3 separate regions of the Homo sapiens genome follow, and regions 2 and 3 are each linked to region 1. The links are contacts of gene promoters, found by promoter capture Hi-C in blood cells and fetal thymus (Javierre and others, 2016). All regions are on one chromosome and are shown on one strand. The core of a region is centred on a gene start or on the middle of the fragment in contact, and the rest is flanking DNA. Distances in the headings are between cores, read along the strand shown.

Region 1 (2,700 bases), core at 66-2,565:
GTAAGTGTGGGTTCTTTTTTTTTTTTTTTTTTTTTTTTTGACAGGGCCTAGCTCTGTCACTCAGGCTGAAGTGCAGTGGCATGATCTCGGCTCACTGCAACCTCCATTTCCCGGGCTCAAGCAATCCTCTCATCTCAGCCTCCAAGTAGCTGGGACTACAGGCGTGCACTACTGTGCCCGGCTAATTTTTGTATTTTTTTTTTTGTAGAGGCAGGGTCTTACTATGTTGCCCAGGTTGGTCTCAAACTCCTGAGCTTAAGCAATCTGCCCGCCTCAGCTTCCCAAAGTGCTGGGATTACAGGCGTGAGCCACCACACCCAGCCAGCTGTGGGTTCTGAGTCGGTTTCACACTGACTAGCTGTGCGGTGTGACCTCAGACAAGTCACGTTATGTTTCTGAGAGTCTTCGTCAGTACAAGAGGGTAATACTATTTACACAGGTTTGTTTATAGAATTAAATCAGGTGACCCCTGTAAAGTCCCCACTGTCTGGCACTTGGGTGGCCTTAGGTAAAGCTTAACTCCTAAATTATTCCTTTCAAAACAGTGATTTGCCCTACTTGAAGGCATTGCGGAAAGATAATGGTAAAAATTAAATGTAATAGACAAACTCTCAGTAATGACCCACCTGCACTCTTTCCAACCAGTGGGCATTTACTGAGCACCCACCTTCTGGGTAACAGGCCTGGTGTCCAGTGCTGGAACGGTGGAGAGGAGCTCAGAGTTTCAGAGCTGAAAAGTCAGCTCCAGGAGAGCAGGGACTTCTTGTTGGCCACTGTATTCCCAGCTAGGTGCTCAGTATTTGTTGAATGAATGAATGAATGAAAAATACAATCCAGCGGGCCTCTGACTCATTTTTTAAAACTTGAGCCAAGTCCCTTGACCTCTCTGAGCTGGTGTGTGTCCCCATCAGTGAAGCCAGAGATGTTTAAGTCATCTAGAGGTCCTGCCAAGCAGGATTAATAGAGCAATAATATTAATAATAGCAACAATCATAACTAAACATATGGAGCACTGCTATGGAGGGAATAACATGTTACGTCCACGTTATAGAAGAGGAAACTGAGACACAGAGAAGCATGAAAGGCTCCTGGAGGGGGGGTTTCATGATGTTTTGGAAGAAAGACTAGGGATCGGACGGAGTCATAGAGAAGAGGATCCACAACCCAGAGGAAAAGGCCTAGTCCAGAGCCACCGCGCGGCGCAGGCTGCGGACGTTGTAGGAGGGACGAACGCCTCCCGGAACCCGCCCAACCCAACCTCCGGCGTCTCCATGGCAACAACCTCCGCACATGCGCCGCGCGCACCTGCGCCGGAGCTGCCAGCACGCGCAGAAGGCGGACGCAGGCGGGGCGGAAGTGGGCCCGGCGGGCTGGGGCGGCGGGAGTGCGGGTGGGCGTTTAAAGGGGCCTTCGGCACCCAGGTCGGTTCGCCGCCGGGACTGCTGACGGGGAGGGCTAGGTAGCCCTGGGAGTCGGGATCTAGAAGGTAGAGGAGAAGCGGGGCTGTCTGACCCCCGGAGGTGACAAGGGGAGAGGGGCTGTGTGAATACCCTCCATGGGCAGTAATGGGATGACTATCCCCAGGGAGCATTGCGAAGGAGAGAGGCGGCTGAGGGACTGCACTTTCTGGGGCCCCCCGGGAGAGTCAGAGGGCAGTTAAGAGGGATCACAGGCCCGGCTTGGTACTGTCACTCCCCTTCCCACTCCCTGCTCTCAGCATTCTGTCACCTCCCTACCCCGTCGCGGTGCCCAGCCATGGCCAGACCTCCCGTGCCCGGTTCGGTGGTTGTCCCAAACTGGCACGAGAGTGCCGAGGGCAAGGAGTACCTGGCTTGCATTCTGCGCAAGAACCGCCGGCGGGTGTTTGGTAAGTGCCTCCCCCTTTCCTCTAGCCCGCCACTTGTCTTTCCCTGGGGAGAAGAGTGTCACCTGTTGCTCCCTGAGGAGAGCAGAGAGGCAGGGCAGTGAGGGCCTGCTCCACTGCAGTCTTCAGCAGTCTTCAGCCTGGGGGACTGAAAGCCCTAGCTCTGGGACCCCCACACCTAAATCTCCTTAGAGCTAATTCCATCGTCAGAGCCAGGAACATGGAAACAGCAGAAACCTTGCCAGCAACCACTGTCACCAGAGATGCAGTTGATTGAGCACTCCCCTGGTGCCAGGCCCTCTGTTGGGCACGTTACACAGTGCACGCCCATTTAACCTCTCAACAGCACATGGTACAGACTTGGCTAAGATCACACCCCAATAAATAGAGGTGAGCCTCTTCCATGTCCTGCTGTCTCTGGGATGAGACGCTGGTGTTCCCCATGGTGAAACTGACTCACCCAGGCAGGGCCCAGCTGTCAGGCCGGCAGAGGTGCCTGGAATCAGCTGTGGAGCCCAGCTCTGGCCAGGAGAAGCAAGGTGCCAGAAGACTTAAGACCAGAGAGTGAGATAGCTAGAACCAAAATTTGTGAATAAGTCAACTGTTTGTTTGTTTTTTTAAAAGAAATTATATTAAATTCAAAAAATGACCCTCTAGAAGGCTGGGCGCAGTGGCCTGTAATCCCAGCACTTTGGGAGGCCGAGGTGGGCAAATCACCTGAGGTCAGGAGTTCAAGACCAGCCTGGCCAACATGGCGAAACCCCATCTTTACTAAAAATACAAAAATTAGCCGGACGTGGTGGCGGGCACCTGTAATCCCAGCTACTTGGGAGGCT
Region 2 (2,700 bases), core at 14-2,513, 540 kb after region 1:
AAACTGACTACTGAATGTAATGAAAATCAGAAAAATAATCACTTAGCCACAACCCTCATTTTATAGGCAGGGAGACCGGAGCCCAGGGAGACAGGGGCACTTCCTGCACACCCTAGCTCTGGCCAGCGTCCTACTACTGTACTGCAGAGTCTTGGCCAGGTGTGCTCACACACAGGGGTAGCTACTTCTGGAGCTCCTTCTGCTTCATCCCACCTGGAGATAAAGCAGTCAGGACATCAGCTGCCACCACCCCAGAAGTGCTCATCCGAGCCTGGGTGACAGAGCGAGACCCTGTCTCTAAAAATAAAATTAAAAAAACAAAACAAAACAAAAAACTGAGCAGGGCAGAGCAGCAGGGGCCATGGGCTATCCCCAGGGCTTCAGCGATGGGGCTCTGCAGGATTTAGGGGACCACATCAGGAATGTCCCAGTTGCTTCCCTCCTAGACAACATGAGATGTCAACAGAGGCTTCAGCTGCTGGGTGCCTGCCGCTTCACCAGCCCCAGGGAACTGCAATGCTTCCGATGTACACTGCTAATTTTATTTTTGTTGTTTTTTTTTTTTGAGATGGGGGCTCACTATGTTGCCCAAGCTGGAGTGCAGTGGCTCATCACAGGCACAATCATAGTGCACTACAGTCTCGAACTCCTGGGCTCAAGCAATCCTTCCACCTCAGCCTTCCATGTAGCTGGGACTATAGGCGCACACCACCATGCCCAGCCTACTCTCCTAGATTAATATATTTATGTAATATAATAATAGAGATGGAGTCTCACTATATTGCCCAGGCCAGTCTTGAACTCCTGGGCTCAAGCGATCCTCCCACCTTATCATCATACCCGGCCCACTCTCCTATTTATTTATTTTAATAATAGAGATGTGGTAAAGACACATGCACACATATGTTTATTGTGGCACTATTCACAATAGCAAATACTTGGAACCAACCCAAATGTCCATCAATGATAGACTGGATTAAGAAAATGTGGCACATATACACCATGGAATACTATGCAGCCATCAAAAAGGATGAGTTCATGTCCTTTGCAGGGATATGGATGCAGCTGGAAACCATCATTCTGAGCAAACTATCACAAGGACAGAAAACCAAACACTGCATGTTCTCCTTCATAGGTGGGAACTGAACAATGAGAACACTTGGACACGGGGCGGGGAACATCACACACTGGGGCCCATCGTGAGGTGGGGGGCAGGGGGAGGCATAGCATTAGGAGAAATACCTAATGTAAATGACGAGTTAATGGGTGCAGCAAACCAACATGGCACATGTACACCTATGTAACAAACCTGCACACCTATGTAACAAACCTGCACATTGTGCACATGTACCCTAGAAATTAAAGTATAAAATAATAATAACAATAATAAAATAATAGAGATGGGGTCTCACTATATTGCCCAGGCTGGTCTCAAACTCCTGGGCTCAAGTGATCCTCCTGCCTTGGCCTCCTAAAATCCTGGGATTACAGGCATGAGCCACTGCGTCAAGCCTACTCCCCTAATTTTAAAATCCTTCACCTGAGGTTCCACTGCACCATAGCCTAGAAAATATTTCATTCTCAATGGCAATCAAATTATAGTGAATTATAGAGCAAGAAAGCCCAGAAATCACCCCCGCATAAGAACCAATCAGAGATCTTGCAATTCAAAAACAATGAGGCTAGTTGCTCTATATGAAAAATGTTGGCCAGGCACAGCGGCTCACACCTATAATCCCAGCACTCTGAGAGGCTGAGGTGGGTGGATCACCTGAGGTCAGGAGTTCAAGACCAGCCTGGCCAACATGGTGAAACCCTGTCTCTGCTAAATATACAAAAAATTAGCCAGGTGTGGTGGTGCGCACCTGTAATCCCAGCTACTTGGGAGGCTGAGACAGGAGAATCACTTGAACCCAGGAGGCAGAGGTTACAGTGAGCCAAGATTGCACTATTGCACTCCAGCCTGGGCATCAGAGCAAGACTATGTCAAAAAAAAAAAAAAAAAAGAAAGAAAGAAAGAAAGAAAAAGAAAGAAAAACAAAAATGCTGTTGGCTGGGAGTGGTGGCTCACACCTATAATCCCAGCATTTTGGGAGCCCAAGGCAGGAAGTTCGCTTGAGCCCAGGAGTTCAAGACCAGCCAGGGCAACATAGCAAGACCCCTGTCCCTACAAAATACTAAAAAATTAGCCAGGCCTGGTGGCACACACCTATAGTCCCAACTACTTGGGATGATGAGGCGGGAGGATTGCTTTAGCCCAGGAGCTTGAGGTTGCAGGGAGTTATGGTTGTGTACTGCAGCCTGGGTGACAGAGCAAGACCCTGTCTCTAAAAATAAAAAATAAAAAATAAAAATAATATTAAAAAGAAAAATGCTGTCCTTCAGCGATGTCTTAGAAGGGCAGTCAATGCCCCTAGCCAGGAAGGGCGTGTGCCCAGACTGGGTGGCAACCTGGGTCTGGTAAAGTCCCCCAACGTGTAGAGCTGTCATAAAGGGTTTATCCACCATGGGACTGCATCGATCTTTAAGCAAGTTTGGTGAAATCAATGCTTCTTAACCATTCATTTGCCACTAAATACAGCAGCTAATTGCACAGGTTTCTTTGCCCACCTCCGAAATTACTGCTCATTAGTCCTTCTGCTGGAGAGTTGGTAGACTCTCTGCTTTACTGGCAGCTCTATTGAAAGATATGCAGGGGGT
Region 3 (2,700 bases), core at 2-2,501, 630 kb after region 1:
ATCATGGCACTCCAGCCTGGGTGACAGAGCAAGATCCTGTCTTAAAGTTTAAAAAAGCTTCCATCGGCTGGGTGCAGTGGCTCACACCTGTAATCCCAGCACTTTGGGAGACCAAGGCGGGTGGATCACAAGGTCAGGAGTTCAAGACCAGCCTGGCCAAGATGGTGAAACCCCATCTCTACTAAAAATACAAAAAATTAGCTGGGCACGGTGGCAAGTGTCTGTAATTACAGCTACTCGGGAGGCTGAGGCAGGAGAATCGTGTGAACTCGGAGGGTGGAGGCTGCAGTGAGCTGAGACCGCACCACTGCACTCCAGCCTGGAAGACAGAGTGAGACTCCGTCTCAAAAAAAAAAAAAAAAGCTTCCATCATTCTATAAATCCTCAATGTATTATTTCAGCAGTACTAATTTAATGCCAATATATTAAGTTTTACATTGTTAGGCTATCACTGTTCTTTTGGTAACTGAATTCTTTTTCCTCTGAGGATTTGGATTTGACATTGCATTTGACCTTTTATTTAGTAATTGACATGTGCCAGGGCAATGATAGACTGCAATCTACCCCCAAGTCCAAGCATCATCAATAACTCTTGTTTATCCTTAGAGAGTCAAATGGTAGGCATTTCATTTCACCTATTTTCGTTCAACAAGGACACCAGATTCATTAAGGGGCTGGGTGCGGTGGCTCACCCCTGTAATCCCAGCACTTTGGGAGGCTGAGGCAGGTGGATCACTTGAGGTCAGGAGTTCGAGACCAGCCTGACCAACAAGATTAAACCCTGTCTCTACTAAAAATACAAAAATTAGCTGGGCATGGTGGTGTGCCTGTAATCCCAGCTACTCAGAGGCTGAGATAGGAGAATTGCTTGAACCTTAGAGCCAGAGGTTGCAGTGAGCCAAGATCATGCTACTGCTGTCCAGCCTGGGAGACACAGTGAGACTCCATCTCAAAAAACAAAAAAAGATCTGTTTTGAAGGTAAAATTATAAACCTTGAAATTAAAAGGGCAAAAATGTAAAGGAGCCAAAAACTGTATATCAAGTATTTGGAAAGTAAAGACTGAAAGTTAACTTGCATTAAAGTCACAAAAACTTTTATACTCTTTTCTTTTTCTTTCTTTCTTTTTTTTTTTTTTGAGATGGAGTTTCACTCTTGTTGCCCAGGCTGGAGTGCAATGGCATGATCTTGGCTCACCGCAACCTCCGCCTCCCAGGTTCAAGCGATTCTCCTGCCTCAGCCTCCTGAGTAGCTGGGATTACAGGCACGCACCACCACGCTCGGCTAATTTTGTATTTTTAGTAGAGATGGAGTTTCTCCATGTTGGTCAGGCTGGTCTTAAACTCCTGACCTCAGGTGATCTGCCCGCCTCAGCCTCCCAAAGTGCTGGGATTACAGGCCTGAGCCACCGTGCCCAGGCTATACTCTTTTTCTGTAAATGCTTTTTGCAAACAACAACTATGGATCAGAATAGCTGCATTTAAAACACATTTTGGGGCTTTTTTTTTTTTGAGACAGAGTCTTACTCTGTCGCCCAGGCTGGAGTGCAATGGAGCGATCTTGGCTCACTGCAACCTCCGCCTCCCAGGTTCAAGTGATTCTCCTGCCTCAGCCTCCCGAGTAGCTAGGATTACAGGTGCACAACACCACACCTCGCTAATTTTTGTATTTTTTGTAGAGACGGCATTTCACCATGTTGGCCAGGATGGTCTTGAACTCCTGACCTCGTGATCTGCCCACCTCAGCCTCCCAAAGTGCTGGGATTACAGGCGTGAGCCACCGCACCCAGCTGGGGCCTTTTTTTTTAAGAGACATGGTCTCACCCTGTTACCCAGGCTAGAGTTCACTGCGGCCTCAACCTCGTGGACTAAAGCAATCCTCCTGCCTCAGCCTCCCAAGTAGCTAGCACTACATGCGTGTGCCACCATTCCCAGCGAATTTTTATCTTTTTGTAGAAATAGGAGTCTTTCTATGTTCCCAAGCTGTTCTTGAACTCCTAGGCTCAAGCAATCCTCTTACCTCATCTCCTAACGTGCTGGGATTACAGACATGAGCCATCATGCCCTGTTTGAAACACATTTTGTTATGTCAATATTTTTAGATAGTTAGAACCTGGTCCTAAACCGCAAAGTAAGCTTGATTCTGTAATAAAAATGTTTACAACTGTCTTGACACACAGAAACCTTTTTAAAAATAGACACTCCCTGAAGTCCTTTGTTCACAAGGTCACACACTGATGCTTATGTGTTCCAGCATCTAATATGGCCACAGTAGTCTTTTTTTTTCCATCTTTAGAAACCTACACGGGAACAGCAGATGGAACAGATCTGAACCCACTCCACTGTGTGTGTGAATGAACACTCCCTTTTGCTCCATGCCGAAATGCTGTACATCTATTTTGGATTGTATATTTGTGTGTGTATGCTTTGATTCATAGTAACTTGTTATGAAATTGATTTGTATTGAATACAAACTGCAAATAAAAATAAATCAATGGCTGAAAAAAAGTCAGTACAGCTTCTCCGTGATTCTCTTGGAACGCTTGCTCTTGGAACCCAGCAGCCATGCTGTGAGGAAGCCCAAACTACACCACACGGTGAGACCGCATGGAGAAAATACGTGTGGTTGTTCCAGAAAGCTGCTCAGCTGAGGGGAAAGCTGATTAGCGGGAAAACTCACCAAGCACAGAAGTGAAGACACT

Evidence for each region. Contacts are between HindIII fragments. The CHiCAGO score rates a contact against its expected background, and 5 or more counts as called.
Region 2: a contact is called between a fragment that was not itself captured here and the fragment with the promoter of CPLANE2 in region 1, in 1 of 17 cell types (total B cells). The highest score is 5.7, in total B cells.
Region 3: a fragment that was not itself captured here is called in contact with the fragment with the promoter of CPLANE2 in region 1 in 1 of 17 cell types (activated CD4 T cells); the score reaches 5.1 in activated CD4 T cells.

The regions. Positions count from the first base shown.
Region 1 is chr1:16,235,798-16,238,497 of GRCh38, reverse strand. It overlaps CPLANE2 (ciliogenesis and planar polarity effector complex subunit 2), which reads left to right and starts at 1,315. Exons shown (of 5, transcript NM_030907.4): 1 at 1,315-1,867. The coding sequence starts at 1,756. RefSeq lists a silencer at 1,258-1,437 and an enhancer at 1,278-1,822. The HindIII fragment of the contact is 3,895 bases long and covers 517-2,700 here.
Region 2 is chr1:15,697,856-15,700,555 of GRCh38, reverse strand. All of the region lies in intron 1 of PLEKHM2 (pleckstrin homology and RUN domain containing M2), which reads right to left. Among named protein-coding and RNA genes, the nearest start is that of PLEKHM2, 15 kb to the right of the region's middle. The HindIII fragment of the contact is 4,369 bases long and covers 1-2,700 here.
Region 3 is chr1:15,609,784-15,612,483 of GRCh38, reverse strand. It overlaps the pseudogene CD24P1. Among named protein-coding and RNA genes, the nearest start is that of DDI2, 6.3 kb to the left of the region's middle. The HindIII fragment of the contact is 1,771 bases long and covers 366-2,136 here.